2 separate regions of the Homo sapiens genome follow, and region 2 is linked to region 1. Evidence: promoter capture Hi-C in human tissues and cell types (Jung and others, 2019). All regions are on one chromosome and are shown on one strand. Each heading gives the region's core, a stretch centred on a gene start or on the middle of the fragment in contact. The rest is flanking DNA. Distances are from core to core; before and after follow the strand shown.

Evidence for each region. Contacts are between HindIII fragments. The study calls those that stand out against the background at their distance.
Region 2: a contact is called between a fragment that was not itself captured here and the fragment with the promoter of SCEL in region 1, in 1 of the 25 tissues and cell types used here (lymphoblastoid cells).

What each region holds. Positions count from the first base shown.
Region 1 is chr13:77,533,715-77,537,536 of GRCh38, reverse strand. SCEL (sciellin) reads right to left here and starts at 1,831. Exons shown (of 33, transcript NM_144777.3): 1 at 1,713-1,831. The HindIII fragment of the contact is 8,761 bases long and covers 1-3,822 here.
Region 2 is chr13:77,004,876-77,008,697 of GRCh38, reverse strand. FBXL3 (F-box and leucine rich repeat protein 3) reads left to right here. Exons shown (of 5, transcript NM_012158.4): 5 at 910-3,438. The coding sequence ends at 1,553. CLN5 (CLN5 lysosomal BMP synthase) reads right to left here. Exons shown (of 4, transcript NM_006493.4): 4 at 3,581-3,822. Among named protein-coding and RNA genes, the nearest start is that of CLN5, 15 kb to the right of the region's middle. The HindIII fragment of the contact is 6,150 bases long and covers 1-3,822 here.

The sequences.
Region 1 (3,822 bases), core at 582-3,081:
CACAAGTTGGAAAACGTATTCTATTATGTCTTAGTCATACCATACACACTATAATATTTCCACATGTGCTGGGTAACCACAGTCTGTGATGGAGTGTGGCTCATTTATTGCTACTACATATTTTATGATAAAAAGCATTTGAAAAAATATTGAGAAAATTCAGTAAGACAAAAGACAAGCAATCTGGCATCGTGCTCTGGTTCTGCTACTCTGATCTTCACAAGTTGCTTAACATTTATGCTTTGATTTTCTCAACTAGAAAATTCAGGCATTAGACTAGATGGGCCTATGCTCCGTTTCAGTTGAAATATTCTGTCAATTAGATCTAAGATTTATACGACGCTAACATTCCAATAAAAATTCTGGCCTGTTGTTGGCATTCTATGCATATCCCGACATTTAGGATCATCTGAATGTTTTACTAAAATTTTTACTGTTGTCATTTCTCAGTTTTCTCAAATTGATGTTTCCAATACTTTAAACACTGGAGCACCACATATATTAGGAAGGCTTTATCTACGTTATAAACTATGGAAGTGAAAGACAGTTTTAAATGTAATCACATTTTATGAAAAATAAAATTATCCACACTTGCTACACTTTAGTTTTCTGGTTACTATAAACACTTGAAAGCCAAGTTGTAAAATTCTTCTGTAAACCTTTGGGAAATGAGCACTGGTGTGTCTAACCCCCTCTCAGACTGCAGGTGACCTTGTCAGCAATAGGAAGCCATGAGAACTCAAGTACTACAGATAGAGCCAGGTATGCTGTGGGGGCACCTCTCTGGAGGACACAGAGCTGCAATTTGCAAGCTGTGAGTGGCCCCTGCATTTGAATCCCACAGCTCTGTATCATAAATAGAAATGATGAGAAAAAACACAAGTCAGCTTAGCTATTAATTATAAAAGAAAGCTCTGTTAAAAGAACTCTTCTAGCCTTATCAAAAGTCTCCCAAAACTGGTTTTTCAGGACTAGGCTATGAATAAAGTTTGAAAATTGCCCCCATATACATTAATCACTCCTTAGGTTAGAATGCAGAATATACCATAGAGAAGTTGGCCAGATGCCCACAGATCCCTGTGAGGAACCATGTACCCTTATTCTGCTCCCACACCCTGCCTTTACTCCTTGGTACTTTCAAGTGAGAAATGGTGATTTTCTTATTTGGGGAAGATAGGGTGGAGACAAAAACCTCATAAATATAAACCTCTCTCTCTCTCATAGCTCAGCAACTTGCAATATTTTTAGCAGTAGAGAAAAAAATAAATATGACTTATTAACTATAAAGCAATATTTGAGTTCACTATTTCACTAAAAGCATCATTTATGAAAACAGAAAGATCCTTTAAAAAATGTTTGTATAGTCGCTTGAGAAAATAAACCAGCAGGTGCTGGTCCCTTCACTTAAAGAATTTATTATCCTTTGTGTGGCAGGATTCACCAGCTGACAGCTCCCACCCAGAAAATCAAATAGGTGCTCGTTTCTGTGATGCCCATAACGTGTAAAATTGCCAAGAAGTTCAATGCAATGTGACCTAAAAGTACAGCAAGGAAGAGCAGAGCTAACAGCCAGCTGGAGGCTGTCAAAATTTACAGGAAGAAAAGACAAAGATAATACAGTAAGTTCTAATTTTAATCATTTGTAAGGAACACAGAGAAAGCTGTGCACATACAGCAGATGTATTTCTGTTTGCAAGTATAATTCAACTTACCTCTATTGAGCAGAAAATCAGGACTTTTTGGCTAACCAGCCTGTAGTGATTCCCTGGGAGGATCTGGCTGAAAGAAATGGGAACCTAGAGTTTATTCAGTGGAGTCTCAACCTCTACCTGACTGTATTAGTGAACAGTTCAGAGGTTTCTTGCTCAGCGGCTGAGTCACTCAGGGAGGAGGTGTGTGGTATGCAACAGGGTGTCACCTTGTACAAATACCAGTTCAATTAAAGCATTCTCACTCATATACCTACTGTCTTTGTTTGAATTCTTTGTTTAACTTATGGCCTTATGCAAAAAAAAAAAAAACATATATATATATATGCTCCTGTGATCACCCTTTTAACTGATATCAACAGTATGCACAACCATATCACTGACAAGGTGGCATAGGACCCAACCTATTTTGTATTCTCTTTCAAAAAATAAAATTGAAAACTCAAGATAGAAGGAACCCCCATACACCCATAGTACCTGGAAGGCAGGGGCACAGACAAGCATGCAAGGAGTATATGGCTTAAAGGAATCTTCAAGACAAACAAATTCTCAGAAACCCAGGAACCCTAGGATTAGAAAACACAAAAGAAGTCTGTTCCACACATTCTACACCTAGACTATTTTGTAAAACTATCAGAGGGAAAATACACCTAGCATGTAAGAATTCTAATCTCTATCTTATTTATCCATGTATAAAAAAATGTGAAAAGGGGCCAGGCGTGGTGGCTCACATCTGTAATCCCAGGACTTTGGGCGGTGGAAGCAGGCGGATCACCTGAGGTCAGCAGTTCAAGATCAGCCTGGCCAACATGGTAAAACCTGATCTCTACTAAAAATATAAAAATTAGCTGGGCGTGATGGCACACACCTGTAACCCCAGCTATATTAAATAACTATAACACACCATGATAAAGTCATATACAGAAATTTTCAATGCCAGGCATCGCATAGTGGAGAGAAGGAAGAACCTGGAAGGTGATGTTGATGCAGAGTTTTAAAGTCTGAGTGGACAATGATTAGATGGTCAAGAAGAAGAAGAACCATTCATCCACTCTGGCAGGAGGAGGCAGGAGAATCACTTGAACCAGGGAAGTGGAGGTTACAGTGAGCCAAGATCACACCACTGCACTCTAGCCTAGGCAACAGAGTGAGACTGTCTCAGAAAAAAAAAAAAAATGTGAAAAGGATGGTTGAAACTTCTTTCAATGCTGAGGGCAGCAGTAGACCCAACATCAAAGGCTGCTTCTGGCCAGTTGCAGTGGCTTTCACTTGCACTTTGGGAGGCCAAGGTGGGAGGATCACTTGAGCCAAGAAGTTCGAGACAAACTGGGCAACACAGTAAGAGAAGATCTCATCTCTACTAAAAATAAAAAAATCAGCTGGGTGTGGTAGTGCATGTCTTTGGTCCCAGTTACTCAGGAGGCTGAGGCAAAGAGAGTCTCTTGAGCATGGGAGGACCAAGCCACAGTGAGCTGTGATCACACCACCGCATTCCAGTATGGGTGACAGAGTGAGACCCTATCTCAAAAAACAAAACAAACAGACAAAAAAAACAAAAAAAACCCAACAAAAAACAAAGGCTGCTTCCGCTGGGAGGAAGGAGTAACACTGAAGAGCCATTCTAGGCGGGGACTCCTGTTACAGGTTTTGAAACACACCTTCCCTAAGAGCCAAAGAGGCTTTAAAGAAGCTTAGCAAACATTGTTGAGAGAAGCCACGTCATCAGAACTTCCTGGGTGATCGTCATTCATATGTCACACCAGCAATGAACCAAATCCCCCCTGAACAACTGCTCCTGAAAACTACAATGCAGCTGAGTGACGCCCACTGAAATGACTGTAACAAGAAGCAGAAACCCAGACTGAAGAGCAAGGCAATTGCAGTATGTGGTCATTGTGACTGGGAGACCACTTCCTGTATGTTCCCTGATGTTCCCTTATTCTGGGCTGAGGAATTTGAAAATCTAAAATGGAAAATGTTCTTTCAAAGTAAAACATATATACGTGTCTACTCAGCTTTTTTATGGAATTTTATACATGCAAAATATTTTTAAAATATGCTTTAAGTTTCTGTGATGCCCAAAAATCTTGGTTTGAATATTAATATTACAAAT
Region 2 (3,822 bases), core at 440-2,939, 530 kb after region 1:
GCCTGTGGTCCCAGCTACTCAGGAGGCTGAGGCAAGAGAATTGCTTGAACCCGGGAGGCAGAGGCTGCAGTGAGCTGAGATCACACCACTGCACTCCAGCCTGGGCTACAGGGTGAGACTGACTGAAAACAAAAACAGAACTCTTACAGAGAGATCAAACATTGACCTTTGCAATGTCATCTGTTGCTAGGATGATAGTTTTGGTAAGTTATAAAGCATGGCACCCTAAGTATAGGGAATCATCTAAGGGAACTGCTTTCTAGGTATGTTAGAGCTTCGAAAGTCATAATGAATATTTCCATTAATGTGAATTGAGTAGTTATTTTTGACATACTTAGTGATATCTTGGTATTTTTTCTTATAAGTTTAATAAGCTGCTTATATGCTATTAGCAATTAGACTTGATCATTTGATAGAATCTTTAGTTTGTAAATGTTTTCTTTCATTACCTAATTCATAGTTTTATATGGTTCTATCTTACTCTGTTTTTATTAGGATTAGGTTTTGAACTTCAAAAAATGTCCTTTGGCCTCCGTCACAGTGGTCCTGTAATTACCTAACCTATAAGTTTAGTGTTAGTAATAACTTTTTAAAAATATGGCACTGTCTGTGCATTACTGGAATGCCCTAACCTTAGTGATGGTGTATTTTTTAAATGACAGAGTTAACTGAGTTTTATTTCTTTTTAATAGATGGGATTTAGAATTGGTTTCATTTTCTTGTAGACAAAATTAGTAATAGATTTTAAATGTTTGTTACTTCCCTTCTAATTCAACTATGCACATTTTAAATTATATAGTTTTGTGGTAAGGGAACTGTGACAAACTTTTGTGGGACATGTACTTGATTGAATTTTTCAACAGATAAACTTTTACAAAAACTTGCAAATAATTTTTTTTTTCTTTCAAGGTATCCTTTGTGTGGCTGATCAGTGTCACGGCTTAAGAGAACTAGCCCTGAACTACCACTTATTGAGTGATGAGTTGTTACTTGCATTGTCTTCTGAAAAACATGTTCGATTAGAACATTTGCGCATTGATGTAGTCAGTGAGAATCCTGGACAGACACACTTCCATACTATTCAGAAGAGTAGCTGGGATGCTTTCATCAGACATTCACCCAAAGTGAACTTAGTGATGTATTTTTTTTTATATGAAGAAGAATTTGACCCCTTCTTTCGCTATGAAATACCTGCCACCCATCTGTACTTTGGGAGATCAGTAAGCAAAGATGTGCTTGGCCGTGTGGGAATGACATGCCCTAGACTGGTTGAACTAGTAGTGTGTGCAAATGGATTACGGCCACTTGATGAAGAGTTAATTCGCATTGCAGAACGTTGCAAAAATTTGTCAGCTATTGGACTAGGGGAATGTGAAGTCTCATGTAGTGCCTTTGTTGAGTTTGTGAAGATGTGTGGTGGCCGCCTATCTCAATTATCCATTATGGAAGAAGTACTAATTCCTGACCAAAAGTATAGTTTGGAGCAGATTCACTGGGAAGTGTCCAAGCATCTTGGTAGGGTGTGGTTTCCCGACATGATGCCCACTTGGTAAAAACTGCATGATGAATAGCACCTTAATTTCAAGCAAATGTATTATAATTAAAGTTTTATTTGCTGTAGTTCTGATATAATTCTACTATTTTGTGGCACAGAAATTTGATATCTTCAGTCAGTATATGTAAAGATTGTTTATCGGAAGACCCATGAATGAGTTTTGGTCAGAAAATTCCACTTGTTTCCTTAGTGTAATAGCAGTCATATCTCCGAATTTTTTTTAATGTGGTTCGGATGTGAAATAACCAGTTATACGTATTAAACAGTTTACAGTCTAAAGGAAACAAAACCTATATGTTATAATATCCAAGAAGTACTAATAGGTTTTCTGAAATGTTATATTCTCTATGCATTTAAAAAAAAATGTAAACTTGACATTTTAGGGTCTTCAGTTACACATACACCTGTTATAAGGTGTTTAATATAGCTCAGGAAAGTGAGCATTTTGTGAGAAAAATGAATATATCATATCTAATGGAAAAGATTGGATGAATGTTCTCAAATGTTACAAAGCTGTTTAAAGAAAAAGGTATATATAAGTAATCAGAACACTTAGAAGACTGATAGATGTCACACAGTGGTATTATAGAAGGATAATACAGAGCCAAGATCAAATTAAAAGACAATAAATGGAACAGAAGGGAGGCAGTGTTTAGCTTTGTATAAACTTTTAGGTTTGCTCTGTAATCTGCTAAACCATATACATTCTTTTGTGATATGTTATTATGTATGTGGCACTTGAGGCACTGTATGTAAAGTAAGGAATGCTTTACTAGTTCTCCTTGGTTTTATCTTTGTTTAAACTAGCTTTAAAGTATTAAACAATAATTGAAATGAAAAGCTTACCTATTTTAAAAAGCCAAATTTAAATAAATATAGAACTTTAAAATGTTTATCAGTTGTTTCCATGAAAGAATATTAGTTTCCAGTAAATTTTAGTGATGGCTCACTCACTTTTCTATTTTGGAATTACATAGTTATGTAAGTAAAATTTTTAAAAATCATAAAGGGAGCACCATTGTACAGTCTAGCATAAACAGCAAATTTTAAAGAGGACATATTTAAGTTCATAATCATATTTTTCAGTAAATATTGCTCAGTGAACTGGAAAACTTTAATAGAAAAATGTCTGCAGTTTTGTGATTGTTAATTTGGTTAAACCGATATTTTATATTATTTAAGTTAGGTAACATTTTATATTACTTTCATATGAATAAAAGTAATCCATGCATTGTAGAGTCTATAAAATGTTGAGTTTTAAAAGATGATATAAACTTTGATGCTGGGCACTAGTGCTAGTAGATATTACTACCCTCCTGAGGGAAATCAGAAATGATTTAACCCCGGTGGAATACATTAATTCTTAAAGCGGCTCTTTTCAGTGGTGTGACTTTTAGATTGTGTCTCAGTGGTTGAGGAAGCTAACAGTCTTAGATCTACTTTTAAAACGGATGGCCTTCTTAAGAATAAAGCAAAAGGTGATTTTCTACATAATTTTTGCTTTCCAAAAGTGATGATATGCTCTCCTACAGCAACATATGAGAAGAAAAAAGGCTTATCTAGATTCGAAAATTAACAGCAATTATAGTAATATATCCCCTCCTTCTAAATAGTAAAAAGCTCTGATTGTACAAGAATTACCTGTGCTAGTCAAGTTGTTGTTTTTCCTTGAACAACTTTGGAAAAATGGATTTGACAGTACATAATCAGTTCTACTAACCAAAGCTTGTATTTGGAAATTTACTTTTTGTACAAATTGAATTATATAATGCTTAAAATACTTTGTCACTTTATAAGCAAAATGCATAGTACTTAATTTGTTTATACTGTAAAGTATATGTTAAATGCTTTTATCACTTTGAGAATAAAAAGTTACTAATGCTGTTGTATTTTACTTTTTAAAAACTACACAAACATTTGACTTTAAACTTAAAAATGTTTCAAATCCATATTTGATGGATATAATATTTAATATTAAACAATGTTTATGATAGACTCGCCTTTTTGAAGATACAAGGTTAGGCTCATGGAATCTATTCTTGAAATAAGCTCTGATGCCTAAAGAAATAGGAAATTTAAAACCTACCATGAAATATAAATTTTTAAATTTTTATACAGAAAATAATAGGTTCTTTCTGCATTCAGAATGAGAACTTATAAAACAGATTATTTAGACATAGAATCAGTCTTTAAGGGTCCTTGAACCCAACCAGTCTTTTTAGAGATAAATGTCTTTATATAAATTAGAATAGTTTTTCAACTATTGA